Regions from separate parts of the Homo sapiens genome. Here region 2 is linked to region 1. Evidence: promoter capture Hi-C in human tissues and cell types (Jung and others, 2019). All regions are on one chromosome and are shown on one strand. Each heading gives the region's core, a stretch centred on a gene start or on the middle of the fragment in contact. The rest is flanking DNA. Distances are from core to core; before and after follow the strand shown.

What was found. The method cuts DNA at HindIII sites, captures the fragments that hold promoters and counts their contacts. A contact is called where the count stands out against the background at its distance.
Region 2: a contact is called between the fragment with the promoter of MFSD2A here and a fragment that was not itself captured in region 1, in 1 of the 25 tissues and cell types used here (dorsolateral prefrontal cortex).

The regions. Positions count from the first base shown.
Region 1 is chr1:39,737,855-39,741,499 of GRCh38, reverse strand. It overlaps PPIE (peptidylprolyl isomerase E), which reads right to left and starts at 2,618. Exons shown (of 10, transcript NM_006112.4): 1 at 2,569-2,618; 2 at 1,237-1,335; 3 at 91-134. The coding sequence starts at 2,599. RefSeq lists an enhancer at 2,361-2,570. The HindIII fragment of the contact is 4,843 bases long and covers 1-3,645 here.
Region 2 is chr1:39,953,657-39,956,994 of GRCh38, reverse strand. MFSD2A (MFSD2 lysolipid transporter A, lysophospholipid) reads right to left here and starts at 1,850. Exons shown (of 14, transcript NM_032793.5): 1 at 1,610-1,850. The coding sequence starts at 1,702. RefSeq lists a silencer at 1,899-2,028. The HindIII fragment of the contact is 9,041 bases long and covers 1-3,338 here.

The DNA.
Region 1 (3,645 bases), core at 479-2,978:
AAAAACCTAACCAAATGGTGAAAAGCTTCCTTTGTAATCAGTAACAACATCACAAACCAAGGACTAGACACTAGTAACACAGACTCTCACCTCTGCCAACTCAAATTCAACAAAAGCAAATCCTCGGTGCTTTTCTACAAAATGGAAAAACAAAAACAAGTAATTACTATGTGGGGTAGTGGGAAGAAACAGGATGGTCACAAAGTGAAGTCAGTTACATGTCGTATCCAAACACCAGAAGTTCTATCCAATCACTATTTAGGAAGAAGGAATCTCATTCTTGATTCTTCTTATACAATATTTTAAGCAATAATAAACTTTGTTTTTTTAATGGACATAGCTGAATAGTAAACTGTATTTTTAATTGATAAGTATTCAATTATTCTACGAAAGCCAAACTTAAAACCTTAACCATTGCATGCAAAGCAATTAGAAAAATAAAGTCATTTGACCTATCAATTATCTATCTAAATATATATTTTGCGCATCAACTGTGCATAAAGCATGAATCCTAAAACCTGATAAAGATGCTCAGTCTTTATCTTCAGGAAAATGCTGAACTAACTAGAAAGACCAAGCACAATAATGTTTATCATAGAACTCAGAGACTAGAAGGCCCTTAGAAAGCCAACATAACCTTATCATTTTGCAAATAAAGATTTCCCAGGCCCAGAGAGTTTAAAGACTTTGCTAACAATCATATGCAAGGTTGATGATAAAACTAGGCCTAAAACTATAATCTTAAAAATGACAACAAAGGTAAACAGAAAACTGAACTGTGGTTGTGATACCAATCGATGGGAAACCCACCCAGGGGTGCAGAGGCCAAGAACCCCCGCCCTCACCCACCCCCATTATGGGGCTAGGCTTTCCCGCTGCCTCATTTAATAGCACAGCTGCAAGAAGGTGCAGGTGGGATGGGGTACCCATCAGGTAGATTAAAACAACATTCAAATCTCAATGTAGTTCAAACCTATCTCCCTACTGGTCTATTGAAAAATCTGTCTTATCTCAACCCAACAGCTGAAGACTCTGGAAAGTATTCAGAGTTCACAACCACATGGCCTCAGAACATTCCTTCTCCATCGAGATCACTGTCACCAGACACCTTCCTGAACTTACCTGTAGTGTATACTAACCATATTTAGAATGCATATTTAGAATTGTGATGTGACTTTAATTTTTTAAGGTATTTTCCTAGTAAGAGGATTCTGAACGTGAGAGACACTAACTCACCTGTTTCATAATCCAGAGGAATCTGAATATCTGTGATGTCTCCAAAAGGAATGAACGCAGCATGAAGAACTTTGTCGTCCACTTCCTCTGCCAGTCCACCTGCAAATAAGCCAAGGGCCTTCTGAGCCACTGATCTCCATACTCTTGCAGAAGTCCTTGCAGCCCAGTTAGCATGCTAGCCAGGGGACAGGACCCTTCCATTCAGTTCTTTGGGTAAACAAACATCCCCCTCTCATCTCTGCCCACCCATACTTATGAAAAATATTCCTCTCTTCGCCCTTCTTTCAGACTCTCATCTAGTCCTGGGATTACTGCAATAGCTTCACAACTGACCTCCCTGCCTCCATTCCATCAACTCCACAAAGCCAACTAGAATGATCTTAGGAAAATGCAAATTTGAACCCGTAACTTTTCGCTTACACTCCTTCAAAGGCTTCCCACTGTCCTCAGGATAAAGTGCAAACTCCTTAGCAGTACCCACCTCTCCAGCTTTTTTGCTTTGCTTCCTAATTTCCTGGGTCTCCCGAATAATGACCCACTTGCCCCCAAGTGTCAGGCTATTTCACACCTTTGCGACTCCCTTGCAGTGAACGGCCTTGCCTCTGCTTCGGTTACGTAGCTAACTCCTGCTCATCAGCTCTGGCATCGCCGCATCCAGAATTTGCCCTCGCTTCTCCAGATGGATGGGTCATTTGTCCCGCAGCCAGGCCCATATTATCATGATCCATCCTCACTACAGCGCTTATCAAAAGTGTGCTACTGAGGTAATTCCACTTTTTTTCTGGCTAGTCTGGGAACTCCTTCCTTTATGGCAGGGGCTGGGGCTGAGCCGTCGCTGCACTGAATGTTTGTAAAACAAATGAACGAGAGGATCCGAAGGGCCATAATACTCCTTTACCGCTCCTCGGGGCCCGCTGGAGCTCAGCGGGCTAGGAAGTCAGAATAATCATTCCGTCTCGGGTTCACGCACCTGAGGTGTGTGGCAAGGCTGTTCACTGCAAGGGAGTCGCAAAAGCAGAGGCCCAAAGGTGTGAAATAACCTGAACCTTGGGGGCAAGTGGGTCATTTTTCGGGAGACCCAGCGAATCGGGAAGCAAAGCAAAGAAGCTGGAGAAGTGCGTACTGCTAAGAAGTCTGCACTTTTTCCTGAGGACAGTGGGAAACCTTGGAAGGAGTTTAAGCACAGCCAGAGCTATCGCCAGCACTACCGCCAGAGACCCGGCCTTGACAGCAGCTCGCCGTCCTCCTGGTTCAGAGATGCGTCCCACCCCACGCCCCGACCCTTGGGGGTCGCGTTCACTCAGACTCCGCCTAGCAACCCCTCCTGCTCACCCACGTACAAGACGCGCTTGGTGGTGGCCATCTTGCTCGCGCGCTTTTCCGCCGGAAGCCAGCACTCGACCCGTCCTCTTCCCCACTGTCCCGCCCCGCCCCCAACGCTTAGCTCTTAGACCCCGCCCACCCTCGCGTTGGTCCAACCGGCATCCCGCTACCCGGATGCACTGGGCGCCTTGTGAGGTGCGCAGTGGTAAACCAAGGGACGTGGTCCTCGCGCTTCCCAGTGCGCACCGTGTTGGGGGAGGGAAACCTTGGCCGAATCAACCCGATTATTATGGGCAAACGATAAACTCTGGTGCTTGGCCATCCTGCGCGTCTGTTTTTGGACAACCTGGGAGCTAAGAATGAATTTTACCTTTTGAAATAGTTGGAAAAAATAAAAAAACTATATTTTCTTGGCCGGGCGTGGTGGCTCATGCCTGTAGCCCCAGCACTTTGGGAGGCTGAGGCGGGCGGATCACCTGAGGTCAGGAGTTCGAGAGCAGCCTGGCCAACATGGTGAAACCCCGTCTCTACTAAAAATGCAAAAATTAGCCAGGCGTGGTAGCGGGCGCCTGTAATCGCAGCTACTCAGGAGGCTGAGGCTGGAGAATCGCTTGAACCCAGGTAGCGGAGGTTGCAGTGAGCAGAGATCGCGCCGTTGCACTCCAGCCAGGGTGACGAGAGCGACACACCATCTCACAAAATATATATGTATATTTTCTTAGCACATGAAAATTATGTGAAATTAAAATTTCAGTGTCCGTAAAGAAAGCTTTATGGGGACACAGCCACGCTCATTCCTTTAAGTATGACTGTGGCTGCTTTCCTACTACAAGGGCAGAAGAGCTATAGCCTGCAAAGCCTACAATAATATTTACAATCTGGCTCTTCAGAAAGAACGTTTGTCTACTCGTGTTAGGTTTTGAAAAGAAGGCAAGGGTTAAAGAAAGACACACACACACACACACACACACACAGAAAGAGGGCGGCTCGACAGCAAACGCAGGCTTTATGTCCAGCATAATAACCTACAGAAGTGGGGAACCAGCCTAATGCCAGTGCCCACCACTGCTTACAGACTGGGCAATT
Region 2 (3,338 bases), core at 601-3,100, 220 kb before region 1:
CAGAACAAACAACTCTGCTTTGACCTGTTCCTATCCAGGAGATCCCACCTTTTTTTTTTTTTTTTTTTTTTTTTTTTTTGAGACAGAGTCTTGCTCTGTTGCCCAGGCTGGAGTGCAGTGGTGCCATCTCGGCTCACTGCAAGCTCCGCCTCCTGGGTTCACGCCATTCTCCTGCCTCAGCCTCCCAAGTAGCTGGGACTACAGGCACCCACTACCACACCCAGCTAATTTTTTGTATTTTAAGTAGAGACGGGGTTTCACCATGTTAGCCAGCATGGTCTCGATCTCCGAGATCCCACTTTATACAAAAGAAAGGTGTTCTCCATTCTTAGGAACATGGAAAAGGGGAATCCATACTTGTGTGAAAGTAGCCCCTAAGCCACCTCCCTCCTGGAGATTCTAAGGAAACTTATCAGCCCACCATCCCTAAAGAACTCCTCCCAAGGCCTCAGGCACTGCTCCTTTCCAGGTTTCAGGGGGAGCATGCTCCAGCAGCCGACCTGTCCCCACCCGGCACCAGCTGCCACAACCTGAAAATCCGCTTGCTGCCAAGAGCTGCCTGAGCCCAGCCCAGGCTCCCACCCTGCCTCAGAGACAGGATCCACCTGCCTACTCCTGGTGAGAGCTCTAGAGAGCTACGGGGGCCCGGCCCAGCTGGCTGCAGGCGCAGCTGTTCCACCTATCCCAGAGCATCCCTGACCACTATAGGCAGCCAGAGCTTCAGGCGGACCCAGGAACTGTCCTACTCTCCAGCTTCCCGACCCATCGCCCTCCACCCCTGAGCTCCTAGAGGACCTTGGAGACGGGAGGAAAGGCCTCCAGGTTCAGGCCTGATCCCTCTCCGGGTGGGGCACTAGGGAGGTTGGGTTGCCCAGGGAAAGTAGATATTACTCATACATAGTAACAGCATAATTGCTCACCCAGCTCCTTCCAAAGATCAGTTAATAAAATTAAAAGGAAAAGGCAGTCACCTCCCACGAAGGTATCTATTGCCTGAGATCCTTTCCTAGGGGGCCGCCTCATTTTATTTGGTCCTTCAATAAGTCCCCAGGGCTGGGGATGTGGTCGATGGTCTCGATGCGCAAAGCACCGTTCCCGCGCGAACATCCACATTCAGACAAATGCCTGAGGGACGCGGCTCCTTTAAGAGCAGAGCTCTTGTTCTTATGAATGAACTTGAGCGGCCCTAACAGCAGAGTTGAGGCGCAAGAGTAGGTGGGTGGAGTGGGAGGTAGGGGATGAGAGATGGGGAACCAAGGGGAGTTTCCCAGATTTCTGGGGTCATCTCTGGGGTTTGGGGCGGCAAGCCCCAGCCGCTCAACACGGAAGAATGGAAACCGGCTAGGCAGAGCGGGGAATCACATGGGGCTGCCGGCAGAGCCTCTCCGCAGAGCGTGGAGTGCGGGTGAGCAAAGGGGGGCGAGGGCGCCCACAGCTTTTCTCCGTCACCCCCTGTCCCAGGGCACCCCCAGGTCCTCTCTGGCTCGTAGGCTTCCTGTCCCTGGCTATCCCAATGGTCCCCTGACCAGGCCGACCCCGGGACGCCCCTGATCCCCCATTTCCGCCTCCTCCCTCCCCTCGCCCTCCACGCGGGGTGCCGGGCCCTCACCTTCACCTGGGCCGGGCGTTCAGTGCTTTGGAGGATGCTGGTGGGTAGCAGCCCCGCCGCGGAGCCGCTCTCGGCGCCTTCTCCTTTGGCCATGACCCGCGGGCCACGCCGCTTGGGACCTGGTAGACGGGATGCTCCTCTGCCCCGCAGGCCGCTGCTCCTCCCAAGCTCGCTTCGTAGCAGCCTTAGCCACGGCCGCCGCGCGCTAGCCAAGCCGGCTGGCAGACGAGGAACGCACTCTGCTGCACGCCCCCTCCGCGCCTCTTATAGTTCTGCCCAGCCCTCTCGGTTGCGGCCAATCCCCGAGCCCCGCTGCCCCGCCTCCAGCCAATCCCGTCGCCCGCCTCCCTGCCCCCGCCTCGCCCGGCGGCTCTGTGCCACCGAGCCACGTTCTCCAAGCCCCGGAACCGGCATCTGCCTGCGCTGGCTCCTAGCAATCCGAGAAGCAGGCCGCGAGACCTCCCAGACACGCGCGAGGAAACCGAGGCCCCAGGCTGAAAGTGATCTGCCCGGGGTCCCCGATCTGCCCGAGGTCCCCGAGGTCCCCAAGGTCCGACTCTCCCCGAGTCGGGCCTACCACCCATGACTTCTGAGCCCCAGGCCTAGGAAAGGTAGGGGCTCTGAAGCCCACTTTAAAATCTGGAGTCAGGGCCTCTCTCCTTCTTCAAGCCTAGAGGACGTACGCTGACACTTTCCCTCCTGATGCCTCTCTCTCATCCCCGAAGACACACCATTCCCCCGTCCTGCCCTTGGCATCCGGGCAATGGGGAGAAAGATGAGGCAATCCAGTGGCTGCCCCTGCCAGAAGGGAGCTCCCAAGTCGTGGAGAGAAGCCGGGGCTACGCCCGCTAGTACACTATGACAACAGTGGCCTTTTTATGGATAGCTTCCTCCATGCTTAATATGATCTCTTTCGGCCCTCAAAAACCACCAAGTGAGGGTGGTACTATTATTATCCCCATTTTACAGCACAGGAAGGGGAAACTTGGAGAAGTGAAGCAACTGTTATGTAGCAGAGCCAGGCCTGAAAGGTTTTGTCCGATACCAAAGCAGTTGCTCTCAACAGCCCTGCTCTATCCCTCTTAGCATAAATTACAGACGGCAGAATGGGGTGTATGTGTCTCCCAACAAGAAGCCCTGGGAGATACATGGCTCCAGAGGCACTGAGGGTTGAAACAGGGAAAGTTTTGAAAAAGAGAATGCCCAGAAATGTGGTCCTCAAAAGAAGATGGGAGGGCATTAGTTTGGAACAGAAGGCAGGCACGGATGCCAGAAAAGAACAGTCTTTAGTTCCACCTCTGAGTCCCTTATGTCAATGTCACCCCGGTCTTTCCAGTTCTCTGATTAGTGAAGGGGCTGCTGGAACTCTCAAAGGCTACCCACCCGGTTCCTGTGCTCCTTAATGTCAGCCTCCTTCTTCCTTTCTTTAAATCTCTGATTGCAGGGAGGAGAGATAAGGTCTATCTGCCCCAGGATGGTCACACCATGCTCCCTCATACGCCAGCAGATCCCATCTGGGCACACAGCTCTTGGCCATTGCTGAGCAGAAGAGAGCCAAAGTGAGGCACTGAATACTGTGGAAAGGGAATGGCTGGCCCCATTACTCCAAGCTGTGTGACACTGTTCTGTCTCTTTTCCCCTCTCCAGGCTTGGTTAGCTAAGCTCCCTTGCAGCCCCCAAATCTTCTCTCCCACAGTCACACCATACCACAAGTGATCTGTATCCCCCG